Regions from separate parts of the Homo sapiens genome. Here all the other regions are linked to region 1. The links are contacts of gene promoters, found by promoter capture Hi-C in blood cells and fetal thymus (Javierre and others, 2016). All regions are on one chromosome and are shown on one strand. Each heading gives the region's core, a stretch centred on a gene start or on the middle of the fragment in contact. The rest is flanking DNA. Distances are from core to core; before and after follow the strand shown.

Evidence for each region. The method cuts DNA at HindIII sites, captures the fragments that hold promoters and counts their contacts. A CHiCAGO score of 5 or more calls a contact.
Region 2: a contact is called between a fragment that was not itself captured here and the fragment with the promoter of JAK1 in region 1, in 1 of 17 cell types (activated CD4 T cells). The highest score is 6.2, in activated CD4 T cells.
Region 3: a contact is called between a fragment that was not itself captured here and the fragment with the promoter of JAK1 in region 1, in 1 of 17 cell types (naive CD8 T cells). The highest score is 6.2, in naive CD8 T cells.
Region 4: a fragment that was not itself captured here is called in contact with the fragment with the promoter of JAK1 in region 1 in 5 of 17 cell types (naive CD8 T cells, total CD4 T cells, fetal thymus and 2 more); the score reaches 6.2 in naive CD8 T cells.
Region 5: a contact is called between a fragment that was not itself captured here and the fragment with the promoter of JAK1 in region 1, in 1 of 17 cell types (neutrophils). The highest score is 6.8, in neutrophils.
Region 6: a fragment that was not itself captured here is called in contact with the fragment with the promoter of JAK1 in region 1 in 1 of 17 cell types (non-activated CD4 T cells); the score reaches 5.3 in non-activated CD4 T cells.

The regions. Positions count from the first base shown.
Region 1 is chr1:64,964,755-64,968,629 of GRCh38, reverse strand. It overlaps JAK1 (Janus kinase 1), which reads left to right and starts at 2,081. Exons shown (of 25, transcript NM_002227.4): 1 at 2,081-2,297. RefSeq lists a silencer at 1,857-2,736. The HindIII fragment of the contact is 15,152 bases long and covers 194-3,875 here.
Region 2 is chr1:66,932,663-66,936,537 of GRCh38, reverse strand. All of the region lies in intron 2 of MIER1 (MIER1 transcriptional regulator), which reads right to left. Among named protein-coding and RNA genes, the nearest start is that of MIER1, 9.6 kb to the right of the region's middle. The HindIII fragment of the contact is 1,149 bases long and covers 1,485-2,633 here.
Region 3 is chr1:63,522,752-63,526,626 of GRCh38, reverse strand. It overlaps EFCAB7 (EF-hand calcium binding domain 7), which reads right to left and starts at 3,102. Exons shown (of 14, transcript NM_032437.4): 1 at 2,993-3,102; 2 at 868-1,055. The coding sequence starts at 1,054. It overlaps ITGB3BP (integrin subunit beta 3 binding protein), which reads left to right and starts at 3,402. Exons shown (of 9, transcript NM_014288.5): 1 at 3,402-3,498. The coding sequence starts at 3,494. RefSeq lists enhancers at 3,139-3,218, 3,380-3,875. The HindIII fragment of the contact is 1,809 bases long and covers 758-2,566 here.
Region 4 is chr1:63,594,360-63,598,234 of GRCh38, reverse strand. The region is part of intron 1 of PGM1 (phosphoglucomutase 1); the gene reads right to left. Among named protein-coding and RNA genes, the nearest start is that of PGM1, 2.9 kb to the right of the region's middle. RefSeq lists an enhancer at 3,788-3,847. The HindIII fragment of the contact is 626 bases long and covers 2,313-2,938 here.
Region 5 is chr1:63,620,009-63,623,883 of GRCh38, reverse strand. The region is part of intron 1 of PGM1 (phosphoglucomutase 1); the gene reads right to left. Among named protein-coding and RNA genes, the nearest start is that of PGM1, 29 kb to the right of the region's middle. The HindIII fragment of the contact is 2,177 bases long and covers 574-2,750 here.
Region 6 is chr1:66,301,627-66,305,501 of GRCh38, reverse strand. All of the region lies in intron 7 of PDE4B (phosphodiesterase 4B), which reads right to left. Among named protein-coding and RNA genes, the nearest start is that of SGIP1, 230 kb to the left of the region's middle. The HindIII fragment of the contact is 449 bases long and covers 1,655-2,103 here.

The DNA of each region.
Region 1 (3,875 bases), core at 832-3,331:
TATTTTAGAGACAGGGTCTTGCTGTGTTGCCCAAGTTGGTGTCAAACTCCTGGCCTCAAGCAGTCCTCCTGCCTCAGCCTCCCAAAGTGCTGAGATTACAGGCATGAGCCGCCACACCCAGCCAGCATATACTATTACTGCCTGAATATGCCGCTACCTCCTGACTCCTGCCTCCTGTCGGCTACTTGAAGCTTATTCTGACTTCCTCAGACTCGGCTGGGTGACTGTCTTCTGTGATCACCATTACAGGACCGGGAATCACTGAATTGTTACTTGCCTGTCTCTCTGACTGCATTGAGCATTCAGAGGTCAGGAACCTAGTCTATTTTTTTTTTCTCTGAATCTTCATCACCTAGCACAATGTCTGTTATAGACGAACAGATCTAAACTGAATCCAGGCCCTCTCCCCCTGATTCCACCCTGTGAACAGCCAGATTCGTTCGTGGGCACAATGGGTTCACTGCTGCCTTCCTGACTTTCCTTTTTCTTTACATCCTCACCTGAAATGCTGTTCTTTCACGTCTCTGTCTCCCTTCATGTCAGTCTCACCTGTTCTTTATGGTCCAGCTCAATAAAAACCCCTACCACTTCCTGAGCCCATGCCATGTGGGCTATATTATCATAGTTCACCTTCAGCAAAACCCCTTTAAGGAAGGCATTATCCCTATTTAACAGGTGAAGAAAATGATGCAAACAGCCCTGAGGTGTTGTTCAGAGTGTGGCAGATGAGACAAGACTTGCACACAAACACCCACAATGCAGGCAACCCGGGTTGCCTCCCTGTCTGCTCTGATCTCCGGTCTTCTTTGGTCCTCTTTTCTGTACTTCTGGAAGGCACTTTGGAGATCCTTTTGTCTGCTGCTCCACTGAGAATTGAGTCAACTAAGAATTGTTTAGGGCAACACAGGTGGTTACTGGTGGAGGCCAAACCTCAAATTCAGTAGTCTAATTCGGATGCTTGACTTTATTCCACACCCAGAATATCTTGCTCAGTTTCAGTTGCAGTAACTCAAGTGATCAGGAACTGTCCAGCAGGGTTAGTGAAGTCAGCACAGGTGGGGCAGCCTCTGTCCACAGCCCTGAAGCTGCAGAATTCTGACCGTGCACGGCCTCGGAGGATTTTCATCCAGGGATTGTCAGGGGGAAGTCGCTGGAGTGTTTTAAGCATGGGAGTGTGTGGAACAGATTTGAATTTTTAAAAGTTCATTGTAGAGAATTAATTGGGGGCTGGAGTGAATGGAGTGACGATTTAAGAGATGTTCGTGGTCCCTTCAGGTGAGAGATGGTGGCAGCTCGGACCGTGTTGCCGGAACATAGACAAGTGAACTGATTGGAGAGATACCTAAGGAAATAAAATTGTTAGGATTTGTCCGTGGACTGCCTACGAAGTATGAATCTTGGCTACAGTGTGACCTTGATTAAGACACTAAAGACTTAATTTGTTCCTCATGGATAAGATGATGCTACTACTTTGAGAGGTTATTAGTAAAAAATGAAAAGCGCTGTACATGCATTAGGTATCAGTGAATGTAGTTCTAATTCCTATTATGCATATGCTTTTTTTTTTTTCGTAAAGAGCTTTTAAAATACGGAATGGGTTGGATCTGCAGTAGCTTGTCCAAGCTGGGGGCTGTATTGTTAAATTCTTTTTAGTCTAGTGCTCCACTAGCTCCTCTCCTACTGAGCTGGGGTAAGAAGCGGAGCGTATACGGAGGAGGCGGGATGCATTTCTGCATCGAGCGCACAAAGGTGTGGCGGAGGGGGCTCCAGAGCTGGGAGGGGTCAATCTACGGGCGAATCCTGGCAATTTTACTCCCCGCGATAGATGACCTCGCGTCCTAGATGAGTTTCTAGATTCTAGAATCTAGAGGACGCGGTGAACAGAGACGAGTGGGGGCAGCTTCGCGAGCGAAGCCGGATGGGGGCGGGGCGGGTAGGCCGGAGGCGCAGAGTCTCCGCCGGGACCGCGACCCCGCCCCGCTTTCCGGGGCTGCCGCTGGTGACGTCGCGAGGGGGTGGGCCCGGCGGCCACGGGGGTGGGGCCGGCCGCGGGGCGGGGCGGGGCGGGACGGGAGGCGGTGCGTCGCTGAGCGCAGGCCGCGGCGGCCGCGGAGTATCCTGGAGCTGCAGACAGTGCGGGCCTGCGCCCAGTCCCGGCTGTCCTCGCCGCGACCCCTCCTCAGCCCTGGGCGCGCGCACGCTGGGGCCCCGCGGGGCTGGCCGCCTAGCGAGCCTGCCGGTCGACCCCAGCCAGCGCAGCGACGGGGCGCTGCCTGGCCCAGGCGCACACGGAAGTGGTGAGTGTCACCGGGGGAGGTGGAGGAGCCGGGGCGGCCGCGGTCGGCAGGCGAGGGGCGCGCAGCCCGGACTGGCCGGAGGCGCGGCCACCGCTCTTGGTCGGTCCTTAGGCTGCGCGGCCCGGGCTGCTCCTGAGCGCAGCTCAGGACCCCGCGGCTCGGGCGGGGAAGGCGGGGATTTCCAGCCCCGCGGAGCCGGCGGGCGGCGAGGAGGTCGCCGGGCGGGGGCCCCCGGCCGGGAGAAGAGCGGTTAAGCCAGGCCGCCCCCTCCCCCAGCGCGCACGGCAAGTTTTCATAAACAAGCCCGGAGCGCGCTGTCTGACATCCTGTTTATACCACCCCGAGATACAGGCGCGGGCTGGAGGGCTGACGTCCCTAGCTCCTTGTACCGCGAACTTGACCGCCAGCTCCCGGCCGGGGTGGCAGCGCAGAAAGGTTTTCTTCTTCGGCCCCAGGAAGGAGGCTGAGGGTCTTAGCTTTTTTCCTTCCTTGCGGTCTCAGCGAGGGAAAGTTTCTGGGATTTGGAGCTGGGTGTTGGGCGTCCGCGAACTCGGGAAACGCCCCCTCCCCTCTTAGGTTCTGTTAGGAACCAGGCCTCAGGTAGCCAGCGAGAAGTGGGAAAGGAGACCCTGGGCGAGAGGACCAGGGAAGGGGAACAGTGGGAGAGAACTACCCGGGGAATTGCGAATCCCACTGGAAAGGGACTGATTAACCGAAACTGGGGCTGGTCTCTGGCTCCCTCACTCCAACTCCATCCGCGCATCGTCGGCGACCGGGAGCATCGGAGGACTAATAGACACTCCTCCAAAGTCACTCCCCAGGGTCCCTGGGATGTGGGCTCCTTGGATGTGTGTTTACCACGGAACTTCTAGATAAAAGATGCGATGTTTGCCAGGTGTTTGTGCACACGTTTTTTGGAGGGTTTGCACTCCATGATTTCCTGTGTGTTCCTGGGGAAGGGGACCCCGTCCTTCCTGCCACTCTTCTTACTACGTGGCTGTGAGCTGCCTTCTGCCCCTGGTTGAGTACATCGCTATACATGTCATTGACACTTTTCCCCCCAAGTCATAGGGTTTTTCTCTCACTGGCAGGAATTTACAGTGGTATAAAATTGTCATTACTTCTTTCAGGGAGTAAAACATGGGTAGTTAAGTGATGAGAATAATGCAGAGAGAGATGTAAATCAGGGCGTGTTTGGTTTTGGCTATTTTTTTATTTTTTGAAGAAAAGATTTGAGTTAAATATGGGTATAGGCACAGTAGATTTTGTTTAAGATGAGCAATTCGTATTGATTGAATCTTTGTTCTTCCCTTTCCAAAACCCCATTATGTGTTGTTTCTTGATTTTGCTTTTGGTGACTCTGATGTTTTCCAAGACCAGGGGATTATTTTCATTGAAGGATCAATGTGTTCTTTTGTACTTTGTGGTGAAGATTAATGGAGACCACCAGGGTTCCAGACATTTCTGGTACAATATGCTTTGTAATGTGGAGAAAATGTCTCCCCTGTATAGATCCAGATCACATTTAAAGATGTGAAGACATCATACTGGAATGACTTTGGACATTATAAATAGGAA
Region 2 (3,875 bases), core at 810-3,309, 2.0 Mb before region 1:
AACTAAGGTGGGCACGGTGGCTCACGCCTGTAATCCTAGCACTTTGGGAGGCCGAGGCAGGCAGATCACCCTAGGTCAGGGGTTCGAGACCAGCCTGGCCAACATGGCAAAACGCTGTCTCTACTAAAATACAAAAACTTTTTTTTTTTTTAATAAAAAATTTGGTGGCGGGCGCCTGTAATCCCAGCTACTTGGGAGGCTGAAGCAGAAATGCTTGAACCCAGGAGGCGGAGGTTGCAGTGAGCCCAGAAAGCGCCACCGCACTCCAGCCTGGGCAACAGAGACTCCGTCTCAAAAAAAACAAAAACAAAACAAAACTAAACTAAAGCTAAGTAAGTGCTTATTTATAACAATACCTATTTTTAGAAAAAATACCTTTTTTAGGAAAGATGATTTAAAATTGGGCATTAAAATATATTTAACATGTACTCATAACCTTATCAGTAGAAAAAAGTTATGTCAACCACACTGGAGATCATTTTGCTAACCTGAACTTATCCTACTGATATATTTTAAAAAAGACACCAAGACATATATATATAAAACATTCACTACCACAAAGTTGTTCATAACAAAAAGGTAGAAAAACATTTAAAGTCCATGCATTAGCTGATTAGAAATGATACATAGTTCTTCCATACATAGTTCTTCCAAACAATAGAACACTATGACTCCATTAAAAATAGAGATATCTGTTTGTGTTGATAGAGAAATAAATGCCAAAAAAAATTAGGAGTATAAAGAAAACTGTAGAACAGGGCGTAAACTGGGCTGGAATATGAAATAATATGGAATAAATTTTTTTTCCTCAAAAGGACATACAAGAACCTGTTAACAATAGTTACCTCTAGGGAATGGGGTCAGGGAGAAGAGGCTTTTTTCATTTAATACCTTTCTGTACTGTTGAAATTTTCTAACCACTTTCATGTACTATGCATTCTTTCTTAAAATGAAAGTCACTGGGAACTGATTATCTTGTGGAATTATGAGACATTTTCATTTTCTTCCTCTAAATTTTGATTTTTAAGAAAACCTAGTACTTGTTACTATTTTTTAAGCTGTAATTTTGAAAAATTCAGTGTTTTAGGGGGTACATATTTATCTTATCTGAGATGGAAAACAACACTAGAGAGACAGAAAGACTGTACACAGAGTATGAATGGGCTAAAACAAATTAAAAACAAACTCTAGCAACTTTTATAGCAAGTTGACCCTCACCCACATATTTGTATGATTTAGTTGATAAAATTGCTAATAGTTGTAACGAATATTCAATGCCTCAGATTTGCTGAAATAATTCTCTTTTATATTTTTCTAGAACATGGTGGGAAATGTCCCATACAACAGAAGACTATAATTTGAGAGAGAGTAAAGAAATAACTAACTACAACATTACCATTATTTTCACCAAAAAAACCCTAACAACAACATAGTAAAAACATGAAGTAATTACTAGATTTTTTTATTCCAGGCAATCAAAAGCTTATTTGCAATGAGTATTACCGTCTGAACAAATTTTTCCCCTCAAAACAATTCTACCACCATTTCTTTTAAGTATTGCCGTCATCTACTTAGTTATGTAGACTCTAAGTCAGAGATTCTCACAGCAATGGAGATGGGGATAGAAGCCTGGAAAGAGGGGTCCTACTTTAGGGTGAAAGATGGTTACCGTGCCAAGGGCTGGCTCACCATCCCTCTCCTCCAATAAAATTAAGTTACTTAACTTTGTTATTACTCTCAGGAATTCTGGGGTATAAAAAGGTTAAGAATGTACTGAAATTAAAATTAGCAATTTACTACAGTATTAATAATTCAGAAGTAAAATGATATCATAGAAAATAAGGACTGGGAACAGTGGCACACGCCTATAATCCCAGCACAAGACAGGAGGATCACTTAAGGCCAGAAGCTCGAGACCAGTCTGATCAACATATCGAGACCCTGTCTCCACAAAAAAAAAAAAAAGCCGGGCATGATGGCACATGCCTATAGTCCCAGCTACTTGAGAGGCTCTGAGGGAAGGATTGATCACCTGAGCCCAGGAGTTTGAGGTTGTAGTGAGCTATGATTTGCGCCACTGCACTCCAGCCTGGGCAACAGAGAGAGACCCTGTCTCAAAAAAAAAAAAAAAAGAAAGAAAGAAAAAGAAAATAAGCACTAGGAATCTAGGAATACAGAAGGCTGGGTTCCAGTCTAAACTGTGCCATAGATGAATTGCACGACCTAGGACAAACTACGTAAACTCTCTGCTCACTTTCATTTTCTCTATGATCAAAAGATTTAGATTTCTTCAAGACCTAACTTTACTTTTATTATAAATTGCTCTAGAAACCTAACACTACTAAGGAGTATGCAGCTAAATGCATGGGATATGTTTAAATTTATTTTTTTAAATCTAGGACTGTTAAAAAAATCTCAATTTGCAAAAACAATTTTTTGGGGTGCTACTTCATGAATTTCATACCTACATAATAAGTTATTGTTCTAAGCCACAGAATAAGACAAACAGAACAAGCCCCAAGCAATGACTGGTACTTGAACAATTTAATCACTGCAATGAATTTTGAATGAACATCAAGCCAGGCAGGCATTTCTAGATAGCTGATTACTTTTCATAAAGACATGCTTAAGCTTCAATGGCAGTGTTTTATTTCTGAATTATTTAGAAAACTGGTTAGTCTCACTTACCAGAATTATCTTAAAGTAATTCACTTGTTTCTCCCACCAAACCTTTCCCACCTATTAAAGTACCCTAACTCTTAACTGCCAATGAATTAAGATTTTTAGGACTCTCACGCACTGGTGATCTTGACTACTTTTAAAATCTTAATAGCTCTGAAGTATAAACATGAAAAAAAATTCATTATTAGTGTCGAGAATTATTTGAAGCTTAAATTCACTGCAGTGAAACACATTTTGCTTAGAGTAGAAATTAATGTTTTCATAAGTAACATTTAACATAATCCTTCGTTAAAAAAATCCAAATACACTCAAAAAATACTAAGCAAGGAGTCCATTTTAAAGAGAAATGGATAGGTGTGAAAGTGAATAAACAGATTATATACCCTCTTTGAAAGTACTAAAATACTTAAATAGAAAGAAGCAAATCCATTAATTTTCTCTTTATATCACAGAAATGTGGCCTAGGTGAAAAGACAGGTCTTGAATTGTCCATGGATTTTTTTCCTTGAGAAGAAAGTCCCTTACGTGTTTACAAACGCTAAAATACAAGACAAATTGTTCGTTCCCAAAGGTCCCTAGTACATTCCTTATAAAACCCAAAGGATTAACTATTTCTTCCTCTCATTTTTTCTCTCATTTTCCTCTTATTTTTGCAGTTAGTAAAACTGCAACTATCCTGTAATTTCCTTCAAGTGTGACTAGGAGAGCGTCCTTTTAGAAGGTTGGTAAATAATTTTAAGGGATAATAAGCAATGAGAAATATTGCCAAAAAGTATTAAGCAAGGGAGCATATGCTATTTATTCTAAGTACATTAAATACGGCTTTAATGTTATCACAACTGAAGAACCAATATATACTTCCTATTATGGACTAAGATAATCAGATCAAATATAAAAAATTAGTATATCCTATTCTCATCTAAAGCACTTTCTATTCAAGAATTAAATATTTTTCTGGAAAAACATGGTCAGGGTCATGCTCTTGTAGGAAGCATCAATTTTTTTTTTTAAAAGCCCAGAAGCATAATACCTACATTTTTCTCTGGAGACATACTTCTTCAATAACCTGTTTTCCCCCTCAGATTTAACAAATAGATATATACTGTTGCTTTGCACTTACTGTTACTTCACAAGCTATCCTTAAATCCTCAGATTTATTTGATCAAAAGCACAATAATTCAGCATCTGGATTA
Region 3 (3,875 bases), core at 413-2,912, 1.4 Mb after region 1:
TTAAACTACTTTACAAATAATGTATTTTATTTAGACATCAAATAAATTTTAATCTTGTCAATTCTTGTATTCCTCAAAATACATTTCCTCAAATAGATCTTATTGGATACAAACTCAAGACACTGCTGCACAAATATGTCAGGGTTTTGGTTTAAGAAAATTCATTATAAAATTGGCAAAATAACTCAGTTTCTCTACCCATAAAGTTATTAGCCTTGATGAAACTGACATGAGTAGTCAGTGTTATCTAGTACTGTTGTTTACTACTCTCTCATGACTAAAGATGTCCAAATCATTTGATACTCCTGGAAAGAACCAAATTTGGTGGTTTTGGGGACCTTTGTAATGAGAGGAATTTTTAAATGTGATAAAGGACAGAAGCAATAAAAGACAAAACAAAAAATAAAAATAAGAAATAAAAAAACCCCAACTCAATTCTCTTTTAAAAGTTCACTTATCTCTCAGTACTTCACTTTTTCAGACATTCCACCCATTTTTACACATCCTTTACACTTTCCTCAGTATGGGTCAAATTCAGGCTAGTGACTTAAGAGGCCAAAAGCGTTTTAATTTTATTATGATAAATCTTAAAGCACCAAAATGAGAATTAAAAGTATCTTAAGCAAGTAGTAATTGATAGAAGCTTTCAATTACCCATCTAGTTTGTATAAACATTGAAAGTTTTATTTTGTAGTTCCTAGAATATGTAACTATATGATATGACATAATAGCTTACTGTAGTTCCATTGCTCAAGCTTCACTAAGAAACTGGGATGATTCAACAAGGTAATTCTAATTTCAGTCTTTCGGACCTATTTATTAACTTTCAACAAAAAGGTGAAAGATTTAAAAATTTTAAAAATTTACCTAAGTAAAGTTGATCTTTAGAAATAATGTTTTCCAAGCTGCTTTTGAAGACAGTTAAGTAGGCAGCTCTACAATTCATATAAAATATTTCCTCTTCAGTTAGTGGAAATTTCTTTGTTCGAGGACTCTCTGAAGGTGTTGATTTCTGACTGGAGAAAGTTGCATCGCTTCGTGGACTGATCGCCATTCTATTGGAAAATAATTTAAAAATGTGTTTGTCAATGTGAGTCACTAAAACACAAATGTCACCATGTCTTTCAAATACAGGGAGGAGAATCAAGATTTTATACATAGAAGAAAATTTATAACATATATGAAAAGATCAAGATATTAAAAGTTTTATATGTGGAAGTAAAAGACGAATACTATAGTTGTATATGGACGTATTATATATTAAACAAGAATAAGCCTTTGGCAGTTAATTTCTAATTTTAGATATATACATATGTATATATATAATTGTTCAAATATGTGATAATAGCCAAAAGAACAAAGATATACACAAGAGAAGAATCACTGAACAAAGGAAGAGCACACATCTATTCTCTCAAAATACGAAAGTCAGATGACAGTCTTCATCAGGTTTTTAAGAGGAGCAAATCAGTTAATACATGTGAAGCATATACAATATTGCTTGACACGTAGTAAGTGCTAAATAAACTGCAGATAATGAGAAACTCCAGAATAATGAGAATCGGGATATGAGTGGTAGTTGACACCCATCTTCCACAGCAGGATCAACAAGATCATTTCATTAACATCTCAATAATGCAGCCCCACATTTCAAATAGCTATATTTTAAAAGTCTTATTTATAGCATTATCATAGTTTTACTGTGTTCCTTTATTAATAACAATATTTGGGGTTTGTATAGCACCTCTGTACATAAGAGCTTAAAGAACTGTCATACATCTTGTCTTATCCCTATTACAGCGGTCAGGTATTTTTTTGTCCGTTTTACAGATGAGGAAATTGAGGGGTAGCAATGTCACCCAGCTAGCAGTAAGTGGCAAAAAGCCGTAAATTTCACGAACAGTTTCTTCTTTGTTAATGTGGATATAGTACTGAACAATGGTTACTATGGGGTATTAGATTCTACTGGTGGTCTAACAGCTTCCAATATTACTCTACCCAGCTTTGACTTCTAAAAATAGATCTCCAACCTAATAAATTGAATATTTCAAGTTCAATAATAAGATAACACAGGTAGGGTCCCCTTCAGGACTCATTGCATTCCTACTCAGGAGGCCTAAATCACTTGCACCTTTTCGAATTATATAGATCATTTACACTTGGGAAAGAAAGATAATAATTGCTTATCATGGATGAAGTACCCTATTTATAATACGCAGGCCGCCTGCCTGACACTTTCATATTACACCAGATTTAGAAGGACCCCACAGGGATGTGGTGTCACAGTCTGGTTACTGCAAATTGGTAATACTATAATTAAGCATCAGAGTTCTAAACACATATGTGTGCATGCATCTCCTCACAAATGTGAAAGAAAACTGTTTCAAGAAGTAAGGGAGAATGAATTTCACTTTGCAATAAGCAATTTTAAAATATAAGTATATTTTAGGATCGTCCTCAAATATTCTTTCCAAACAAGGCAACTCCCTCACATGGAAATCCCAAGGCAGAAATGTGCCAGAATTTTATTCTTTTCCTTTCTGTGACGAGAAACCAAACTAAAGCTTAAATAAACATATAATTGCACCCCCCGCAGGCTTGGAAACCTCCCTTACTTAAAACTCCGGCCCGAGACTGAGACAGGGGCCTAGAGAGTACATTGCAGCAAACGGCTCCATAAATAACCAGCCACACAATAGCAAGAAAAATAAACTGTTAACAAGCGCCTAAGGCTTCTACAGGGCCAAGTGAAAACAGAAAGCCGTCCAGTCACCGTCCCTACACAGTGAAATACCGTCACAGGTAATCTCGGGCACCATCTCTCTATTTTTGTATTCCTCTGGAAATAAAACCGCATTTACATGTACATTTTAGGTACATACATGGACCAAATGTTTATGACAGAGAAGTAGACAAAGCAGAGGAAGGAGAAGCAGCTGCACAGAGAGGGACAGAGGGAGCGAAGAGACAGAGACAGCGAGCTGTTTGCTACCTAATTCTAGCTCACAAACAAGGAAGCGCAGCCAATTCTCTTCGGCGATTCAGCGTTCCTCTCACCGCAGCTGGACAGATCTCGGCCTTTCTCTAATCACCATGGCAACTGCACCTCACCGCCACCGGAAATAAGATGCAGAGCCCTTCTCCAAACGATCCGGCTAGAAATCTAGGAAGCGCTGATCCGGAGCGCACAGAGACAGCTGTGTTGCTCCTCTATCGCGGGGGTGGTATGGCCAGAGTAGTGAGAGAAGGTGCTCTGTTACACCAGCAGGAAATAGGTGCTGTCCTGGGCCTAGAACTCCCCGCTCGCTCCTTTGCTCGCGCACACCCGGATCCTTCGTCGCGGGGAGGATGTTTCCGCCCGGCCGCGGTGGGCTTGACGCAACGTCCAGCGCGCGCTTTTCATGCCTTGGCGTTTCCTTTGGCGGATTTTCTGTTTTCGGAAGTTGCTGGGTTCGTTTTATTCAGCGGCAGTGGTGCTTTCCCGAATCTCAGAATGCCGTAGGTATCTCCTCCCCAGGTATTGCTGTTTTGGGGGCCCTCTGCAAGAAGAGAAGATATTATGTGGCCCAGTAGCCTTTCTCGTTTTCCTATTTTTTCGGAGTATGAACTTGTCTCCTCTGTCCACAGGCAATTCCCTTCGCTTGGTACCCTCAACTCTACGTCTCCTCCAGCGGTACTCATACGATAGTCCTCCTTCGCTTTCTGTTTCTACGATGCTTTTGACAGATTTCGTAAACTGTGGGCTGTATTTAGGTGATGTCTAACTTGAAATAACATAAATAAGGTTGACACACAGGATGGGACAGAGTAGATGAAAACACGCCTTCGTAGTTTGTCAGTCCCTTGCCTTCATTAATGTGGCGCGTTCGTGTAAA
Region 4 (3,875 bases), core at 1,376-3,875, 1.4 Mb after region 1:
GGCAAGGCCGAGGCAGGCAGATCGCTTGAGCCCATGAGTTCGAGATCAGCCTGGGCAACTTGGTGAAACCCCATCTCTACAAAAAATATAAAACAATTAGCCAGGCATGGTGGCATGCACCTGTAGACCCCAGCTACTTAGGAGGCTGAGGTGGGAGAATCAACTGAACCTGGGGAGACTGAGGCTGCAGTAAGCCACGATCGCGCTACTGTGCTGCAGTCTGGGCAACAGAGTAAGACCATGTCTCAAATTTTTAAAAATATATATTCTGAGAAGGGGCTCCACAGTTTGCACAAATGAGTAGCAAAGGAGCCGTGACAAAAGAATCCCTGTAACTTGACAACAACAACAACAACAAATACCCTCCTTGCTCATAAGTTCCCACAAAGGTATTTATTTTATTTTGCTTAGGGTGGTGATAAATCATCCTTCAAAACATGCACACATTCATTTGTGAGCTTAAACTCTCCTCAATTTCTGATGCTGGTCATTTGCAGATCATTAGACCCAGAAGTGATTTTTAGAGACCAGGAATAGTTTCAACTAAAGAATTCGTTGGGATTCTCTTGGACTTTTCAGTAACATGGGCCAATAAAATTCCTTTTTCACTTGGAGTAATCCAAGTAAGGTTTTTGTCATTTGTACCCAATTGGGCTCTGACTAACACGGAACCCCTCTATATTGGTTGAGGCTGTTGAGGATTAGAGGAAGGTGGGAGACCATCTGGGTGGCTCATATCTGCATCACGTTGGATTGTGTCCTAATACCAACAAAACATTGATAACACACCTATCATTCGAACAGTTTCCAAGTGAGGTACTTGTAAATATGTTGTTTCATCTAATCCTCACAACAGGCTCTTCAGGTATGTATTATTCCCAACCTTTGTGGATGAAACAAAAAAGGACTAGAAATTTGTATTTGTATCTAATCTAAACTCCCTCAATTTGTATTCATTCTGCTAAGAATTCCTCCTACCAGACAAACCCACTCTGGGAACTCCAAGTCATTCTTTAAGACTCAATTCGGCTACCACCCCTCTATGGAGCCTCCCTCCCTTCATCTTCCCCTCCCAAGTACAGCCCCTCAGGTTAAAGACACCTGCACATCCCTCCATCACAACACCTGACACATTGTGCTGTCTGCTTACTCCTGTATACCACCCCTCCCAGACTATGTCTTTCCCAAGGGCAAAAATATTTTGTATCTCAAGTACAATGTCTGAGGCAAAGCAAGCACATAATAAATGTTTGATGTGAATAAATTTATTGGTCACCAGCTACATGCTGGCTTTAAATCAAGTGCTAGAATACAAAAGTGACTCACAGTTCAGAGCAAATAAACAAGAATTCATTGAATGCTACATAGTCCTAGGCATTGCAGATACAGGTAAAACACAGGTCTGACTTAAAGAAGCTTACTCTCTAGTTGGAGGCCGTTGACATGTAAACGGAAAATTTCACTAGAATTTAATATATATATTCTAGAATTATCTATGGGAAAGGAGCACTTAATAGGTGGAGAAGAGTGGTAGGGATGGGGTGTCAAGAAAGGTTTCTGAAGATGCCATCTGGACTGAATCATATCACAAGAGAAAGAGTAGCATATTTAAATCCCGAGTGAGTAGAGAGAGTGAACAAAATCAGAGAACAACCTGAGCGTAGAAACCTAGGGAATAGGCCAGGCGCAGTGGCTCACGCCTGTAATCCCAGCACCTTGGGAGGCCGAGGAGGGTGGATCACCTGAGATCAGAAGTTCGAGACCAGCCTGGCCAAGATGGTGAAACCTCATCTCTACTAAAAATATAAAAATTAGCCAGGTGTGGTGGTGCATGCCTGTCATCCCAGCTACTCAGGAGGCTAAGGCAGGCGAATTGCTTGAACCTGGGAGGCAGAGGTTGCAGTGAGCTGATTGCGCCACTGCACTCCAGCCTAGGCGACAGAGTAAGACTCCGTCTCAAAAAAAAAAAAAAAAAAAAAAGAAGAAGAAAAAAGAAAGAAAGAAAGAAGAAAGAAACCTAGGGGATAGTCAATGTGCAGCCCATGAAGGAACTTCCAAAAAGTGTGAGTAGAATCAGGAGAGTAAGCAAGGCCAAGGGAGGAAGAACTTTACAAGAGTACAAAATCAGCACTGCCAAATGCAGCAGAAAGGCCAAATAAGATTAGACCAGAGTGTATTCCATGAATTTAGCAACTGGCAAGTCCCTAGTAACTTTGGCAAGAGCAATTCTACTGGAGTAGTGGAGGGGGCAGAAGCAGTGAAATGGCGAGTAAACCGGAGGTGAGAATGAGAAATAGTGAATGCAGAAAGCTTTTACAAAGGTTGGCTGAGAGAAGAGCAATAGGGCAATGGCTAAAGGGTGATGAAGTTTTAAGAACTTTTTTTTTTAGTCTTAACTAATTCTTTCCTTCCCACCCCACACTACTCCCAAATGGACAAATTTCCATCTGGGCACCTAAAATTCCCACTCTGCTGTAAGCTCCTTAAGGACAACTCTTGGGTCTGCATCATCCTTTTAGTCCACACATTTCTCTGAACATGGTATTCAACAGGATCTGTTGAATGACTGACTGAATAAATGAATGAATGAATGAAATGCAAATTCAGCACAGGTGGTAACAGGGAAATGATCTACTGGGATACAGCTATTGTCTGTTCTTCTTTCATGGGAATTTGCGCTTGTCTGAAAATTCAGGACCACAAAGTAAACAAATCCAGGCAATCTTCTCTCACTGATGCTTATAAATGTTTGGCCCAGGAAGGCAGATGTAGATAGAGCCCAGTTTAGATTTTGGAGCCTGGAAAACAGATCTTCAAGATCAAGGGCTGTTCATTCTTCATTCTCAGGAGCTGTTCAAGTTCTTGGGATTGGCAGATCTATATTGGACTCTTAGTGCTGCCATTATAGTTTTTGTAAATTATTTAACCTACCTAAGCTTCAGCGTCCTCGTTGGCAACTTGAAGATACCCATAATAGCATCTACCTTATAGGGCTGCAGGAGGATAAATGAGACCCAGAAATGAAGCGCTTACCATAGTGCTTGGCAAATAGTACTCAATGTCAACAAAATAAGATAAATAAAGTACTATTAAAATGAATAAAAATATCCATTTCAGGGGATGCGTTCCAGAAGAATTGGGCATAAGTCAAATCTCACTTAAAATATAGAAAGAAAACTTGGTCCTCAGAACTCCTTAGAAATGTTTTACAAAAGTAAGTGAATAATTAGCCCCAACTTATCAATCCACTTTTTTTTTCTTTTTTTTTTTTTTTGAGACGGAGTCTCGCTCTGTCGCCGAGGCTAGAGTGCAGTGGCGGGATCTCAGCTCACTGCAAGCTCCGCCTCCCGGGTTCACGCCATTCTCCTGCCTCAGCCTCCCGAGTAGCTGAGACTACAGGCGCCCGCCACCACGCCTGGCTAATTTTTTTTTTTTTTTTTTTTTTTGTATTTTTTAGTAGAGACGTGGTTTCACCGTGTTAGCCAGAATGGTCTCGATCTCCTGACCTCAGGTGATCCACCACCCTCAGCCTCCCAAAGTGCTGGGATTACAGGCGTGAGCCACCATGCCCGGCCCCACATTTCCATATATCAGATTTACTGAAAAACTTTTTTTTTTTAATTTCCCCTATCCGAGTGGACCCGCCCAATCAAGTCAGTTAACTTTCCTTGGCCGGGGGCGGAACCAAGGTGTTGCGGTAATTTCCTGGCCTGCCACGACTGCTTGCTTGCGTAAGGGCGTCTTTGGGTATGTTGCCATTCTAATGAAAATTCAGCTCCAGCCCCGTCGGTGGAACAGATCCCGGGCACCACTGGGCAGAGACTAGATGTTTCAAACGCCTGCCCCCCAGCAAGCAGGCCGCGCAAAGGGCAGGA
Region 5 (3,875 bases), core at 413-2,912, 1.3 Mb after region 1:
TTAGCTGGATGTTAGTAGAATTGAAGTGTATACCACATATAAATCCTTGTACGTTTGTATACTTCTGTAAAATTAAGGTTATTTGGAGAGCCAGAAACATAACAATACTTATCATATACCCACCCCATTGGCAGCTGCCATCTGCACTATTGTTTCTATTGCTGATTTATTAAAGTACCGCCCATCTCCACCAACCACCAGTGATGATCCCTGGCGATCTTTTAGGTCTATGGAAAAGAATATACTCTGGATGAAATTCTCCAGATAGCATGGCTTTTCCTCAAAATAATAGGTTTTCTTCCGTAATCCACTTGTTCCTGGTTTCTGATCGTGGTAGGGAGCTGTAGCAAAAGTCAACAGAGGGAGAGGACCTTCTTCCATTTTTCTATATGTCCCAGAAATCCATTCTTCAAAATCACTCATCCTTCACTTCCACCGACTGGCTCAGTGAGGGTGTCCAGAAAGCAGTCAAGGGACTCCAAAATAGGTCTGTCCAACCTGAAGCTGCAACAGTGTCGTATGAGTAACTAAAATAGAGGGTTTGCATGGACGATCACTCTCAATGAGAAAGCTTGGTTAATTCCTTGTTGTTGTTGTCCCTTGTGAACAAGTTAAGGGCCACACACCCACTCGCACCCACACACAAAGCAGGTCTTCAAAGTTGTTTTGATGAGGACACTTCTGCCCACTTAACCAAGCCAAATACCCTTCAATTATTTTTGTCTCATTTCCCCGTTAGGGTAGAGATAGCTCCAAGGAGTGCTGCATGCAGCCAACTTCAGCTGTAAACACCAGGTGGCTGACAGGCTCCACTCTCAGAGCCCAGGCAAAGAGGGCAAATGCAGTCCCACGAAGCAGATTTGTGAACAAGACACCCTGGTGTGGCTCTCACTGCTCCTGCCATCCCTTAAACCAGAGCCTCTCTGGGCATTCATCTCTGAGAAGGCCATCTGCAGCTAAAGTTGCCCCATGCCACCTAGCAAGTTAAAGGTCAATCTTAAAATGGAAGTGAGGGAGCTTAATTTACCCCTGGTTTTCTTACATCACTGTCATTTTGAAACCTAAGAAATTATTTTTACTTCACACATGCAATCTATCAGGAAAAAAATTATCTAACAGATTTATTCATTGGCCACCAAAGATTTAAGAAAACAGTGTTCAGTTCTAGAAGAACAGATACCTCCAAAGTTGCCCTGAATAACCAACAGCTTGGTCATTCCTTTGAATATACAAAAAAACAGGCGTGAGGATGCACCAAGTCCTTAAAAATGTAAGCAAAACACGGAAAAAATATACATATGTTTTTCTGAGTACACAGGGTTGGATCGAGTTTTTATTTAGAAAAATAATATGAACATGAGATTCGTTTTTAACATTTTCTCAGTTTTAAGCATACTTGACTTTTAATAAAATGTTTTTAGGGAAGCAGTTTAAGTCCTTTGTATTTGAAGAAACTAGGATGTTTAAAAATATTTTACCTAAATAAATTTCATATCTAATTCCATTTGATCCCTGAGATTTTATTAATGATCTATTTAAATACATACATGTGTGTTCTCAGCCAGGCATGGTGGCTCACACCTGTAATCCCAGCACTTTGGGAGGCCAAAGTGGGCAGATCACCTGAGGTCAGGAGTTCGAGACCAGTCTGTTCAACATGGTGAAACCCTGTCTCTGCTAAAAATACAAAAATTAGCCAGGCATGGTGGCGTGCACCCGTAGTCACAGCTACTTGGGAGGCTGAGGCAGGAGAATTGCTTGAACCTGGGAGGCTGAGATTGCAGTGAGCTAAGATCGTGCCATTGTATTCCAGCCTGGACAACAGACCAAACATGCACTGAGGAATTAAGGTTTTGAAGGGAAAAGTGAATCATCCCTTGAGCAACAAAATCTGAGTCTTTTTATACTAACTTGTCAAGTAGCATCCGAAAGTAGACAGGCACTGGTAGCTGCCAACTGCCCTCTGTCAAGAATGCCGCTGTGTTCCGGGGCTGCTCTGCACAAGACCAGCAGGAATAACAGGCTCACAAGCAGAAAGTAGGCCACTGGCAAGGGAGCCCCTTCAAATGACAAATGGGCCTGGCCCATGTGCAGGAAATACCTCGAGACATAACATTAACACAATTCACAAAACACATCTATTATGTTGAAAACCAGTCAGCCAAAAGACGACTACTTTTTATAGCTTATTTTGGGCTCTTAATTTGTTTTTAAAAGTCAAATTCTTTAGAAATTAATTGAAAAAGCAAGCATGCTTTATTAACAGTTTACATAACCACTGTTTTTCAACGTACTATAAATGATTTTTTAAATTCCTATTTTGTAAGTTCTGTGCCAAGTTTTCCCTGGTTTTATATGGGCTTGTGAATTAGGCTGGCATGTGTGTCTTGACATATCCGATAATAGATCCAGATTTATAAAATATCATTCCAATAATCTTTTCATTGGAATAACAGAGCAGCCAACCACATAATTGGTAGTTTTCTTAATGAGATCTTGAAATCCCAGGGTAAATTTGGGGGTACTTGGGCACAAGGATATTCCCACATCCCATACCAAAGCCTCTCTGCCCACATAATACACCACACTCCAGCATAGTCTCTGCTGGCAGCCTCCCAGTCTCTCGGTGAAGTTCTTTCTGAGGGCAGAATTACGAGAGCAACATTTTAAGCAACGACACATGCCAGGCATGGTGTTTGTCAATATGCAAAACTATACCAAAAGAACATAATCCTTGCCCTAGAAAAGCTTCTATTCTAAAAATGGGCCTGATCATAATTTTATGAACACTATAGAACTCAACCCCATATAAAAATATTACCAGAAGCAGCAATGTTAGATGGACTGTGAAGTATAGTAAAAAAGAAGAGACATTAAAAACATTAAGCTTCCTAAGACACTCAGACTAAGTGGGGCAGCTATTAAGAAACTCATTTGTTTTAGCTCTCCAGCAAAGGTTGAACTTCATCTTCAGAAACGTTACTGTCGAGCATAGCGAACCCAATTTGGCCTAATGAATTCGCCTGCATTGCCAGTACTCCTTCACAATGACACAAATTACATTTAAACCATATGGGGGATTTAAGGATTACTCCCTTCAGACAAGGAACTTTCATACTGGTCTTGGGTCCAATCAATTTCACAATGGCAGAGTTATGAACCCCTTCGCTCCCAGCCTTGCAAAGACTCCAGCTTCCATTTGCATCAGCAGTGATACCTTCCCAGTAGAGCATAGCAGAAACCGTAGACTTACCAATCCTTTATTCACTCTTTCTTTTCTATGTTTCTTTAAAAAATATTTAATGGACAGTTAATAATGGTGTCCCAGGCCCCATGTGAGGGCTGGCCTGAATGGGTTCACCTCTTCACACCAAGAATTCTTTCTTAGCTAATGTCCCAGGAGTGGGCATAAGGGATGAGCCTGATAACCCTATTTCCAGGCATAAGCACTAGAAAGAAAGGCAGAAATTTGGCTTAAAGCAGCAGGGTTAATCAGACACTCCAGCCCAAGGCCCTATGCTTGTGATGGCTGCAGGTGCCTGTTCCAGAGGGCTTGAAGTGTTTGTCCCCAAGAGTGGAAAACGGTTATTCATTTCTCCAGCCACCAGTAACTAAGCAGGTAGTAAATGCTCAGCCCCAGGCAAGGCACTACATTCTAACGGGAAGGGCACAGGTTCAGCAGCCAGATACAACTAGGGCTCAAATCTTTCACTGTAAAATGTATGAGAGGTACAATCTAGAGCAAGTTACTTAACTCATCTGAGCCTATAAAATGGGGATAGCTCTGAAGTTTGTTCAGAAAACTGAAAACAGGTCACATGTGAAAACACCCAGTACTGTGCCTGGTATAAGGTAGATTATCGGTCATTGTCAGC
Region 6 (3,875 bases), core at 630-3,129, 1.3 Mb before region 1:
TTTAAATTTCAGATAATACTTTTTTTCAGTTATTATACTACAATCAGTCTTTCTACTAAAAAAATTACCTGTTGTTTATCTGAAATTCAAATTTAACTAGGCATCCCATATTTTATCTAACAACCCTAAATAAGAAGACTATTTTTCATATCTCTATGAGTCTTGCTTCTCCAACATTCTATATTCAATAGGATTTTCACAGAAGGGAAAGATAAAACTGTGCTATTCCCTCTGCCTGCAGTTCTTTTCCTCTGGGTTTTTGCATTTTGATTTTAAGCTCAATTACAGACTTCTTAAGCTTTTCCTGGCCTCTTTATCTAAAACAGCACTTCCTTATCCCTCCAACCATCCCTTACGCTTTGCTTTCCAGTCACTCCTTATCCCATTATCTTGTTTCCATTGTCTGAAATTATCTTTTCACTCTTTTGGGCACATGGACTTGTCTGTCTCTTCAAGTCATTAGAGTGTCATCTTCTGAGAGAAGGGCATTCACTGTCATGTTCACTGCTGTACACCAGTACCTATAACAGTGCCTGGCACAGGAAAAGCTTAAATAGCCAAATAATACTCTAGGTGTTAAAATGAATTTTGTGAGCATTGAGGACTGAGGAGGTCCACAGAAAGAAAAGCTGAGTATGGGTTTATGTGATCAGGGAGAGCTTCTTGGAGGAAGTGGATTTTAGTAATGTCCTATAGCAGTAGTTTTAAAAGAAGGTGAGAATTTCTTGAATAAGGCGAGGGACATTTTCCAACCCTGTATGTCCCTGCTTTCCCCATTCTCCTCACTGGGTCTACGAGAATTTAGTGTGGGAGAGGAGCACTGTGTTTATTGTCAAAAGGCTTCCCAGATGATTCTGATATGACCCCTCTATGTCATTTGAAGACATCTACCTTAAAGGATGGGTAGAATTGGACTAAGTAGAAAGCATTGAGAATGGCATTATCCGCATGGAAAAATGTGACTTGAGCACAAAGAGAGGAAAAGGACCACTAAATATGAGGGACTGTTCAGATCAGAGCAGAGTTAAGGAGTTTAGGCTTTAGCTTATGGATGATGGAGAACATAGGAAAGATTTCCAGAAGGAAATGAAAGAGTAAAAATGGGAATTGATAGGTGTATTTTTACCAGGGTCAGAAAACCGTGATGTAGCAAACATGGTGGTCCACTTCTTAGTTTTGTAAATAAAGTTTTATTAGAACCCAGTCGTGCTCTTTTGTTTTATATTGCCTATGACTGCTTTTGCTGAAAATTCAGCACAATGCCTGTAATGTTTATCTCTTGTCAAACTCTACAAGCCCTTTAAAATTTTGCAGAAATGACCTCACTGACAAGATTGGACAAATTCATTTTGTAGGATGATTATATTAATATGCTTATTAACTCCTAAATACCTGAAAGGATTTTGTACATGTAGGTACTAGGTTAAATGCTGGGTTCTGTATCTTCCTGAATTGTGAGTCCTAGGTCTTGCTCATCATCTACCATATTTACGATATTCTATCTGCATGTGGTTCTGATAACATATTTCAGTGGTGTGATGGTGTCTTCTAACCTGACACAAAATAGAAAACTACTGTTATAAATAACCACATAAGCAAGTTCAAGTCTCTTCCCAAAACTGACATCTGATAGCTAGAGGTTTGGCATGAAGCTTGGTTCCCAGCAATAATACCAGACACATAAGCAGGCCAAGTGTCATGGTTAAGTTTCCCAGTAACTCCAAAAATATCCGCTCTTACCTGTTTTCCCATAAGGATACACAAATGCTAACCTCCATCCTTGTCACACTTCTAGTACTCTCTCAACTCTAAGGCTTACTTCTGGGAATGATCTAACATTTTATGCAAATAGCTAGAGTTTGGTTTCTTTGGATTCCTAAGAGCCTCCTTCTGGAAATGGTACTGTCTTGGATGGCTTTAAAGATTGGTCAAAGGGTACAAAGTTTCTGTTAGGAGGAATAAGCTATGGAAATCTATTGCACAGCACGGTGACTTTAGCTAACAATAAGGTATTGTATGCTTGAAAATTGCTGAGAGAGTAGATCTTAAATGTTCTTACCATAAACAAAAAGTCTATGAGGTGACAGATTATATTAACAAGCTTGATTTAATCATTTCACTGTGTGTGTGTATATATATATATATATACACACACACACATATATATATAAACATCATGCTATACACCATAAATATATATAATTTTTATTTGTCCATTATACCTTAATAAAGCAGGAGGGTAGGGGAAGAGATTCTAATTCCCTCCCAGCCCTGAGGGCAATGTGGAAGCAAAACTTCCTCTTGGCTACAGCAGATCAGGCAACATTTTCTCAAGAAATGTTTATCCAGGGTCTACTGTTCAAGGTGTTGTGGTTACAATGGTGAAAAAATAACCACTCATGAATGACTCGTGAATAAGTATTCTTAGTGCCTAAATGGAGCTATATTCCAACACAGGCAATTGAATTAGAGTGGTATGAACAGAGTGTGGGTAATATTTGGATGCCATGGAAACCCATAGGATGGGCATCTAGCAAGGTCTTGGGTCTTCTTAGAGGAAGTGGTTTCCAAGTGATAAACTGAAGGAGTTACACACAGATAGAGGTTGGGGAGGGAAACCTCAAGAAGAGCAGGTATGAAAGCCCAGAAAGAGAAGAGCACCAGTGTCTATGTTGACAGTGTTTTATAATTAATTGTCGATCATCTCAGCATAGCCAAAAAGCCTTATAGTAGATTCTAATCAATCTCTGATGTGTTGCACCAGAAAGCAAGCAAGAGCTTTTGCTTTTATTCCACTTTTTGTACTGCCACCAAATCTTTTTGTGAATGCTGACCAGTCACTTTATCTTTCGGAACATCAATTTCTCATTTGTCTGATGAGGTTAAGAATACCAGCCCTTGCAGGACTTTGTAGTAATTCAATGAGACTACATGTGGGAAAGTGCTTTGTAACCTCTAAAACACAAGAGATTACTATTCTAATTCCAGCCACCACCCAGGCCACTCCCTGTTTCCACCTCAATTGCCCATCCAGATTTGCTCAACAAATGAAAGCTAATTTTAATATCATCTGCTGACAGTAAATCAATCAGGTGATCAAAGCCAAAAGACCAGTTTATAGATTTTCCCAAGCCACATAACAAGACAGCGTATGTGGTGGTAACAGATGACAGTAAGATGACCATCAAGGACACATCTGTGGTTCTTTTTTATAAATGTGGAAATTAGTGCAGGGAAGAGTCTTGGGAATGTCACGCAGCTAGGAAGCTGATGCTCAGAGAGGCTGGTTTGTGGATGAACTGTGCTTTTCCATTGCCTCCTGTCTCCAAGGCCAGTGGGTCACTTCTGCTTCAGGCTCTTCTTGATTCCTCCAGAAATGAGTATAGGACAGAGCACTGCAATTTCGAAGCAGTTTAGCTTTCCCCATTTTCACCCAGTGATGCTGTGTTCTAATCTCTCTTTGCTTCTGGGCTTACTGTAGTTGAACAGTCCAAACCTCTGTGGTTTGAGAGGCTAATGGCCACCTCCTAAACAAAGTCAATAAGTTGGCTGAGCAGTAAGCTCCAAGATTTAGGAAGAGCTTTCTCTAGAGTTATAAAAGCCCAACGAACATGTTACTTATATCTCTCCCATCACAAAGTCATGACTTAGGAGAAGTTCAGCAGTAATCCCTTCAAGAAAAAGGTCTTTATAACTCGCATGGGTAGAATAACCTGGCATTTGGGAAAGCAACTCAATTATGCCTGCTGGGAGAAAAAGCTATAGGATGAATTCATGACCTAGTTTAGGTAGTATTTAAAATGAACTTTAGTATTTTTATGTAATTGTTACTATTCTATCATGAGATTACATTTATATGCTTGCAATATTTTTTC